Regions from separate parts of the Homo sapiens genome. Here all the other regions are linked to region 3. The links are contacts of gene promoters, found by promoter capture Hi-C in blood cells and fetal thymus (Javierre and others, 2016). All regions are on one chromosome and are shown on one strand. Each heading gives the region's core, a stretch centred on a gene start or on the middle of the fragment in contact. The rest is flanking DNA. Distances are from core to core; before and after follow the strand shown.

Region 1 (3,371 bases), core at 37-2,536, 180 kb before region 3:
AATAGTCATTTTTTTTTTAGATGGCCTTTCAGTCTTTGAATCCATCTTGTTCTATCTTTCCAATGTTGGATTTAAAATATTTTCTTTCTATTTCTTACCCATCCCACCCCACTCTCCAATAATATAAGGGTTACTAAACGATAAAGGCTCAAATTTAGAAATAGCTTAAACTTAGATGAAAGTTACTCTTTGGGTTGTTATCTATAACCATACATTAAACCTGAAATTGGCCATTTTCCAGAAAAGAACATTAATAAGAAAAGAGCATACCTCACCCTGCAGAGCCAAGTGCTATGTCCCTGTTCATCAAATTCATATTCTAATTCTTCTCCTGTGGGAGAAAGACAGACAAAACAATTTTAATAGAATCCAAAAATTACTAGTTGATACAATGATAAATGAGAACAAACGTTAAATACGAACAAGTTCCTAGCAGTGGCTCACGCCTGTAATCCTAACACTTTGGGAGGCTGAGGCGGGATGACAGCTTGAGTTAAGGAGCGCGAAACCAGTCTGTGCAACATGGCAAAACCCCATCTGTACAAAAAATACAGAAATTAGCCGGGCATGATGGTACGTGACTTTTGTCCCAGCTACTACGGGGGCTAAGGCCGGAGCATAGCTTAAACCCAGGAGGTCAAGGTTGCAGTGAGCCAAGATTGCGCCATTGCACTCCGGCCTGGGCGACAGAGTGAGACCCTGTCTCAAAAAAAGAACAAGTTCTGGCTGGGCGCGGTGGCTCACGCTTGTAATCCCAGCACTTTGGATGGCCGAGATGGGAGGATCACGAGGTCAGGAGATCGAGACCATTCTGGCTAACACAGTGAAACCCCGTCTCTACTAAAAATACAAAAAAAATTAGCCGGGCGTGGTGGCGGGCGCCTGTAGTCCCAGCTACTCGGGAGGCTGACGCAGGAGAATGGCGTGAATCCGGAAGGCGGAGCTTGCAGTGAGGCGAGATCGCACCACTGCACTCCAGCCTGGGCAACAGAGCGAGACTCCGTCTCAAAAAAAAAAAAAGAACAAGTTCCCATACCACACTGAATAATAAATTTCAATGCATTTCACTTCTCATTCCTAGGGATTATTGTCTGATAATAAAATTAGAGTAAGTCTGAGGCAGAGAAAAAAACAAACTCAGATCAAAGTAACCAATTCTCCATACATAGCTCTGTTCACTGTATAGTATGTTTCACTTTTATAAGTTGTAGACTTTAGTGGTTATTTTAACACAGTTGCCTGGTTTTTAGAAGCACAGATATTAAGTGCACAGCTATTTCATATATTATTTATATATACATATAAAATATATACAGATATACATACATATACATAGATATTCTCTCAAAGTATTCCTACCAAAACAATCCTCTATGGAAAAAAAATTTTAAATCATATAATATAAAATCAAAACCTATGTTAGGAATTACAAAAGATCAGGTGAATTCGGAATTAAAAAACTACAGGAAGTTGGCTCAATTTCCCCACCACCAAAGTCCAGGATCTTTTGAGAAGAATGAGATGAGTCAGGAAAAAGTACTTCCTTTTTTTAAGATAAGAAGAAAGACTAACAAGATTTTTATGATTTTTTTCCCCTCTGCCATACTAATGAGGAATAATTTTCAAAATAAACCTAAAGCAACTGACCACAAGAGTAAAAAGTGAACAAGAAGGACAGCAATAAAATTATAGCATATCTTAGTATAAAGCTCAACATGAAGCTCTAGAAAACCACACTGCTCTGGATATGTTTTAGTGGTAGGGTCAGAATCTGTTTACATACCTTCTCGGTCAAAAAAGCCTTGGAGAGCCTTTTTGGGATCCTTTATATAAAAGGCCTCCCTTTCCTGCTGAAACTCTAAGACAATAGGGTTCTCTTCAGCATCATCCTCTACTGCATCTTCTCCTACAGGATATGGAAAAGAAAGAAAAGATAATCAGACATGAGAAGAGACTATTTGAATGATACCCACTATTCTCTCAGGCTGCATAAAGATATAGTTTAGGCTGGGCGCAGTGGCTCATGCCTGTAATCCCAGCACTTTGGGAGGCCAAGGCAGGTGGATCACAAGGTCAGGAGTTCAAGACCAGCTTGGCCAACATGGTGAAACCCCATCTCTACTAAAAATACAAAAAAAATTAGCTGGGCACAGTGGCGGGTGTCTGTAATCCCAGCTACTTGGGAGGCTGAGGCAGGAGAATTGCTTGAACCTGGGAGGAAGAAGTTGTAGTGAGCCAAGATCGCGCTACCTGCACTCCAACCCAAGCAACACAGTGAGACCGTCTCCCAAAAAAAAAAAAATATATATATATATATAGTTTATCTGTGATGAAAAATAATAAATACTTGCAGGGACAGGGGGTGGAACAACCACCACAAAACCACTAGTATGAGCATATTCAGGTTTTCTAAATTGTGTGACAAGTCAAAACTTGTTTTCATGGCACCTTAATTTTTTTTTCTCCATCATTATATTTTAAAAGTAAAATTACCTACCACATTGTGGAAAAAAAATTTGAGCTCCTCAGCCTGGCATTCTTGTTCTCTCACACTCATATCTAACTTTCGTTCCCAATATAATTTCCTAATACTTCTTATATCTGCCAAATAGACTGGTCTACTCACAACTTCCTTAAAATCATCAATTCCTACCCTGAATACCAATCCCAATACTCAGCTTCATAAGGCTTTTCCTTTCCTTCAAGTTCCAGCTCAAAATCCTTATGCTCATAAAGCTTCCCTGTGGAGTGCGATCGCTCACGCCTGTAATCTCTACACTTTGGGAGGCCGGGGGGCGGGGTGGGGGGGGGGGGTGGGGGGTGGATCACAAGGTCAGGAGTTCAAGACCAGCCTGGCCAATATGGTGAAACCCCATCTCTACTAAAATAAAAAAAATTAAGTTTCCCAAAGATCTAAGTCAGTGCTGTCCAACAGAAATATAATGACAGCTGTATGCGTCATCTTAAATTTTCTATTAGCCACATTAAAAAATTAAAAGGAAACAGGTAAAATTATTGTCATTTCAACATGTCATCAATATAAAAATATCATGAAAGAGATATTTTACATTCTTTTTTTCAGACTAAGTCTTTGAAATTCAGTGTGTATTTTGCATTTACAGCACACATCAATTGCAACTAGCCACACTGCAAGTGCTCAGTAACCACATGTGGCTAGTGGCTACCATATCAGACAACACAGGTCTAAGTCCCCAGTGACTGTTCTCTCTTCTCCAAACTTTCACTCTAGCATACTTATGGTTTCTAGCTTTTGTTTGGCACTTAGCACAAGTAATTTCATAATTTTTCCTATCTTCCCAACTATATATTAATGCCATCTTCTACCTTTTTATACTCCCATCTCCTGAATA
Region 2 (3,556 bases), core at 861-3,360, 160 kb before region 3:
GCCCTGATGACTCAGATAGCAGCTATGGTTCCCACTCCACTGACAGCCTCATGGGGTCCTCCCCTGTTTTCAACCAGCGCTGCAAGAAGAGGATGAGGAAAATATAAAAGGAAAAGAGGGAGATGTTTTGTCCAGACCTACTAGACCCAACAGAAAAGGTTTTTGTATTAGAATCTGTTTCCTTAAAAATTGATTTGACTCCTGTTCTTAAACACAAGTGGTTTTTCCTAATTCCAGAGGAACTGGACGTCACCAAACAAGGTTGCATTTTACTTTTGCATCCAGTTTTTATAGTTTTCCACAACCAAGCCACCCTTCACAGATAAAATATGATGCTGGCATGGCAATCAGACCAAAGCACTGTCCCCAATTGTTGTCTTAACTATGACTAGACATGTTATACAGCCATTTATCTTGTACAACTGAGAAGAATCATACTTTGACCTACCTTGTAGAGATGTGAGGATTTAGATGTTTGCTAACTTCAAAACTGTGCTTGAATAGACTAATAATATATGCTCATATCAGATGTCAGTTTTCATTTAACTTGATTCATTTTTGGCTCAGGTCATTGGGAACCCATTACTAATACCTAACAGGAAATAGCTAAACACAACACACCTTATCTATTAGTCACCTTCTTAAAACTGTTTTTGCTACTTTTGAAGTGTCTTATTTATAAGATCAGAGGTCTGACACCTTTTTTGCTTAGACAGCTCTCTATCTCATCCATTTATTTTCTTCTCTAGACTTACTCCATCTCTCCTCATCCTTTTGCCTTTGTTATTTCTGCTCGGACTCACATACTTTCACCATATACATATTTTCAATTGTTTCTTTCCTTTTCTCCTTTGTGAGCAAAGCAAACAAGTACTGTCCAAGGACAGCCTTGTGCATATTTCATTTGTTGCATTTGCTTGGTCATCAGAGGACAGCAGTCCATTAAGCACACTTTGCTGCTTCTACTGTAAAGGCAGCCTTTAAAACATAGCAATATGCACCTTTCAACTTTACATCATGTCCTGAACAACATCACTGTGGTTACTCATCCATCAGACTATCTGTATATATAAGTACTGAATCAGTATTTATTAAGTAAATGATGTAGCACTGTAGTGATTAGGAATCATTAGCAAATGTGTTGCTTCATGCCTTGGTGATGGATGCCAGCATGTTAAACTGCTGAAGTTTGATTTTCTGATGCAAAATATATCTTGTAAAATTTAGACCACTCCTTTAATGCAGACCAAAATAAGGCACAGCTTTAATTCATTATTGAATGCCTTAAATGTCCCAGGTATTGAGAATAAATGAATATGATACAAATGAGGTTATAGTTTAACATATAATTTTAAATTTGCCAATTGTAACTCTTTAGCACATTTCTCTAAACCCTTTCTGTCACAGTCTTTTTTTTAATTTATTTATTTATTTATTTATTTTTGAGATGGAGTCTTGCTCTGTCACCCAGGCTGGAGTGCAATGGTGCAATTTCGACTCACTGCAACCTCTGCCTCCCAGGTTCAAGCGATTCTCCTGCCTCAGCCACCTGAGTAGCTGGGATTACACGCACATGCCACCACACCCAGCTAATTTTTGCATTTTTAGTAGAGATGAGGTTTCACCGTGTTGGCCAGGCTGGTCTCAAAACTCCTGACCTCAAGTGATCTGCCCGCCTCGGGCTCCCAAAGTGCTGGGATTACAGGCGTGAGCCACTGCACCTGGCCTCTGTTGCAGTCTTATCTTCATTTTCCTTTGTTTATAATGAAAGTGGCGATTAGGCAGTTAGTTTCCATAAAGTGGCCGTATGGGAATTTAGTTCATTCATCCAGCAAACATTGAGTACCAATTATTTGCTAGGTCCTGTGCAAGGAATACAAAAATGATTAAGACTTCTTCCTTACCCTTTTGGAGCTTGAAGCATAAGGAAGACAAGTTATTCTGTAAGGAAGATAAAGCATTCAAAAGTACTACAGAGAAAAACCAAGTATGCTTGAGTTTTGCGAATGTTCTCCTCTTAAAGAATAGCTTCAAATTTTGAGACCAGTGGTTCCCACTAAGTATAGAACATTAAAATTAATACTTTATAATAAAACACTTTTATTGCTGCAGAATGTTAAACTGCATAACAGGCACCAGATGGTCAAGACGAGGGAAATATGAGAAGGCAAATGATGTGAGGATTAGTATCTTGAGATTCACCTGGTCTGGAATTATGTCATAGGCTACTATGCATCAGAATCACATGGAGGGCTTTCTAAAACAGACTGCTCAGCCCACCCCCAGGGTTTCTGAGTTCATAGGTTATAAGAGGTAAGTTGAACAATTCCCCAGATGATGCTGATGCTCCTGGTCCACAATGTGAGAACCACTAAGTTGGAGTACTGACTCATAGAGATAAAATTCTTTGAAAGAAATGTACTGTTTTAAGATACTGTAAAATGTGGAGGCAGGGCAAACGTTTATAAGGGCTGTTATGTATGAAATGTGCCTCTGACCCAAATCCACGGACTTTGCGAAAATCACCAAGGAGACTTTGCATTAAGTTCAGAGTACAATACAAACTGGGCCTAGCTCTGTATTTAGTCAGTATGTGCACGTGGGAAACTTTAGTAAAATATCACCTCCTTATTGAGACAAGTTTGGACATCTGGCCTTAAGCCTCTGTTGAACAGGAGAAGTGAAGCTGTTTGCAATTATATAATTTTCTAATTTGAAATCATGACAAGCAGTCTTAGAACAAAGTTAAAATTAAAAAGTCTTTATCCAAGTCACCAATGAAACAGGATTCTGATTCATTAATCATGTCTTGCCCACTTTTTTCAACAAACCTGACGTCCTATAATGAGCTATACAGTGTGAGGCATATTTCATAGCAACGTTGGTTGATTGCCAAGGAGACTCTGCCACCGTTCTGGATAAGCTCATGTTTCCCTTTTCCTTGGCTGCTAATAGAAGGGCAACTTACAGTGCAGGGTCAAGAGCAAGAAGCTGGGGGAGTAGAGGCTATACATCTAGCCTAATAATAGAGATCTGAGGTGGTCACCAGGAGACTACGTTCTTTTGATTCCATTCCTCAGCAGCAAAAGTACTTGAGTTCAAATGATAAAACTTGAAGTTGTAGGCTTGGAAGAGTATCAGCTCAGTATATCCTTCCTTGCATAAATACAAGGGAAAGGCCAAGGAATAATCAGCATTAACCTGCCAGGTCCAAGGGTCTTCTATCCCTGACTTCATCTGAGTCACAAGATTTCTCTAATAAGAGAAACTTTGCTACTCTGAGGAAAATTATCCCTTATGGGAGCCCCCAGTTCAGAGGTAAGAACAGTTCTTTCACGTGGAGGTCCAAAATTCTGGACTTCTAGAAACAAGTGAAGTGTGCTAAAGTCTCCTATTTATTGTTTCTCTTCCAGTATTGTGCCATCGATTCTTGCATAAAATTCTGGAATGCTGGCTCTTCATGGCTTTCCTCTGTAACTGCAAGGAAAAAAGGGCAATTCTTTTTCAACTCTTTCATTAGACAAACTGATTAGAGCCCGTCACCCATCCATCAGAA
Region 3 (3,223 bases), core at 715-3,214:
GTTGGGTGAGAAGGGGAAAAAGAGAAGAGAAAGATATAAGTTCCTGCACCACTGAATACTAATACATATCATATGAGAGGGTAGTAGCCTTTTTATCTTCACTGCTTGCATCGACAGCACAGCTCCTCACCACTTACTCTTCTGACTCCTCCATCAACCCTGGGCTAATGGTCAGAAAAGGACTAAGCAGTGTCTTGGGGACTAATGAAAGGACAGCTACACTCATGGATTCCTTGGTGCCACATGCTCCTATCCTATGTGTTCCTGTGTCTGTTCTTCCCTCTTTTGCATTCCCTTTCATCTCTGTCTCTGTTTAGTCAGTCAAAGTCAGTAATAACTGTAATTCATAAATGAGTTTATATTCATGCTCTGCCACCATATCCAGAGGAGGATTCTGAAAATAAAACTGAGGGGTTGGGACTCCCCTGTCAAAATAATTCTCATTTGAGCTCTGAGGCCTACTTGTTTCCTGTGAAAATAGGGGCTGTCCTCTGCTCTTTCCTATTTTCTAAGGGGTGGTTGGTGGCCATGAGACAAACACCTGTTGACACTTGCAAACCACTGTGGGGGAAGGCTTCTGGACCCACAGTCTGTCTGGAGAGCATATGTTACACTTCCTGGAGAGTTACAGATCTTCCCAACTTTGGATCATTTCAGAGCAGGCTTATGAATAACTCCTTTCTGCATTTCAATCTCTCTGGTATGTTAGAAGATAGGCCAAAAATTCTGAACGGGACTCCAAAGATCAACAAGTCAGTCTCTTTTCTACTTAACCAATCTCTAACCCCAGGTATCACAAGACAACCTATCGGGTGAGCCAAGTCAGGTCTGCCCTCAAAACTGAACCACAGGCCGAGAACGGTGGCTCACGCCTGTAATCCCAGCATTTTGGGAGGCCAAGGCGGGCAAATCACCTGAGGTCGGGAGTTTGAGACCAGCCTGACCAACATGGAGAAACCCTGTCTCTACTAAAAATACAAAATTGGTCGGGCGTGGTGGCACATGCCTGTAATCCCAGCTACTTGGGAGGCTGAGGCAGGAGAATCTCTTGAACCCGGGAGGCAGAGGTTGCAGTGAGCCAAGATCGCGCCATTGCAGTCCAGCCTGGGCAACAAGAGTGAAACTCTGTCTCAAAACAACAACAACAACAAACTGAACCATAAAAACATTCCAATGTAAACAGCAGTCTTTAACCCACCATTACCCAATTAGGAAGTAGGGTACCTTACGTTTCTTTGGCAGCTAGTTCCAAAACACTCATCTTCCAGATTCTGAGAATAAATGTCATTTATTGGGATGGGAATGTGACAGGTTATAGTATCGTGGCATGGAGAGAGCGAGCTAGGAGTTGAGAAGGAACATAAAAGCTGTTTAAAGCTACTAACTCTGGGTTGAACTCCAGTTCCAAGTCCTTCGCTGGCTGTGTTAGTTTGAGCAAGTGCCCTGAGTCTCCTGTTATGTAAAATGAGACTAATAATAACGCTATCCCCTTCAAAAGGTGGTTTTGGGATTAAATGATATAAATGCACGTACAATACTTTACACAGTACCTGGCAGACACATACTGAGTATTCATCGTTAGCTATCGTTATTAGCCTTGCGATCCCGTGCAAATCATGTAACCTATTTGGGTACAATTCCGTCAACTGCAGAAGGCCTATCATGGAAACCGCCCTGCTTCCCTCCAGAGTTGTGAGGATTAAGAGAGTGCACTCAGAAAGTCAGGTACATCGAAGAGCGAGACGGACCGCTATGACGTAGGACCTGGGGCTGGCTGAAGGCTTGTGGGCGGGGCTTGGTCTTGAGTTTGCATGCGGCGACGGGATTGGTCAAGGAGAACATTCATGAAGCCCTCTCAAGGGCCCGCCCTAGATCTCACCGCGCTTGCGCACGTTCTGTTTGCTTCGCCGCAAAGTTACGTGTGACCTTGCGACGCGTGTTGCGCTCCGGTCGCATAAGCGTCAGTGCCTGTCGCTGCGGCTGCGTGGCGGGTTGTCCAGGTAACCACGGGAGTTGTCGCTGTCTAGGAGCATCTGAAAGACAGGTGTGCGTCATGCACTTGAAGCACCTGAGGACCCTGCTGAGCCCTCAGGTGAGGAATTGCGTGCCAGTCCCTCCCCCTTATGCTTTATGTTCCAAGAAAAGTGGGGGAACTGAAGTTTAATGATGTTGACCTCCTACTGTGTGCAGAAGGCTGTAAGGGATATAGCGATGATCTGGATCTTGGCCTGTCGATACAGCGTCCAGGAGGCGAGATGCAGGGCTAAGGACTTGTAGCTTTCCTTACATTTCATTCACATCAGTTGTGTACAGGCCCCATGCTGGGGTTCGTAGGAATCCCAAACCACCCGACTTATGTCCCTCCCTTCAGGAGGCTCGTATTAGAGGGTGAGGTGCACATGTAAGCAGCGAGTATGCATGTGCCCATAATTAAATAAGCGCCTTAGGTGCAAGCCCTGAAGGGGGAGTGCAAAGACCGAACCGTGTATTCTGATTCAGGAGAGGCTGGGCACTAGGGGAGGAGCCCTGAAACATGGTGAAGAAAGGGTGGGCTTTGGAGTTAGCACACCAGAATTTAAGTCCTAGCTCCACCACTACTTTCTTATTTTCTTTTTAAAATTTCTTACCTTGTCCTTATTTCAGGTCAACCACTACTTTATTTAACTATTTGAGACAGAGTTTTGCTCTGTTGCCCAGGCTGGAGTGCAGTGGCTCGATCTCACTGCAACCTCCGCCTCCCGGGTTCAAGGGATTTTCCTGCCATAGCCTCCCAAGTAGCTGGGATTACAGACGTGCGCTAGCACGCCCGGGTAATTTTTTGTTTCTTTGTTTGTTTTTGTTTTTGTTTTTTGTAGAGACGAGGTTTCCCCATGTTGCCCAGACTGGCCACCAGTACTTTAAACAAATGACCTGATATCTCTAACTTTAGCCTTTATTATACAATGTCTCGGAGCACTCACCAACTTCTTCATTTGAAAAAACATGAGTACTAATAGCAACTTTAGGGGACTTGGGGAAGAGTTATATAGAGTAATATACACAAAAGAGCATTGTAAACTGAAAAGCAGTGTGAAAAATTGATAGACAAGAGGAAAGGACATTCAAAATTCAAAGGACAGAATAATACAAAGCTAATAAGAATAAGATGTCTGGCCAGGCCCAGTGGCTCACACCTGTAATCCCAGCAATTTGGGAGGCCAAGGTGGGAGGATCACTTGAGCCC

What was found. The method cuts DNA at HindIII sites, captures the fragments that hold promoters and counts their contacts. A CHiCAGO score of 5 or more calls a contact.
Region 1: a contact is called between a fragment that was not itself captured here and the fragment with the promoter of IFT172 in region 3, in 1 of 17 cell types (endothelial precursors). The highest score is 6.5, in endothelial precursors.
Region 2: a fragment that was not itself captured here is called in contact with the fragment with the promoter of IFT172 in region 3 in 1 of 17 cell types (endothelial precursors); the score reaches 7.3 in endothelial precursors.

The regions. Positions count from the first base shown.
Region 1 is chr2:27,665,803-27,669,173 of GRCh38, reverse strand. It overlaps SLC4A1AP (solute carrier family 4 member 1 adaptor protein), which reads right to left. Exons shown (of 14, transcript NM_018158.3): 3 at 1,784-1,906; 4 at 271-331. Among named protein-coding and RNA genes, the nearest start is that of SLC4A1AP, 3.6 kb to the right of the region's middle. The HindIII fragment of the contact is 2,905 bases long and covers 1-2,738 here.
Region 2 is chr2:27,650,036-27,653,591 of GRCh38, reverse strand. It overlaps GPN1 (GPN-loop GTPase 1), which reads right to left. Exons shown (of 14, transcript NM_007266.4): 14 at 2,081-3,477. The coding sequence ends at 3,392. It overlaps SUPT7L (SPT7 like, STAGA complex subunit gamma), which reads left to right. Exons shown (of 6, transcript NM_014860.3): 6 at 1-2,783. The coding sequence ends at 107. Among named protein-coding and RNA genes, the nearest start is that of SUPT7L, 12 kb to the left of the region's middle. RefSeq lists an enhancer at 1-985. The HindIII fragment of the contact is 7,798 bases long and covers 1-3,556 here.
Region 3 is chr2:27,488,484-27,491,706 of GRCh38, reverse strand. IFT172 (intraflagellar transport 172) reads left to right here and starts at 1,964. Exons shown (of 48, transcript NM_015662.3): 1 at 1,964-2,092. The coding sequence starts at 2,054. The HindIII fragment of the contact is 7,682 bases long and covers 1-3,223 here.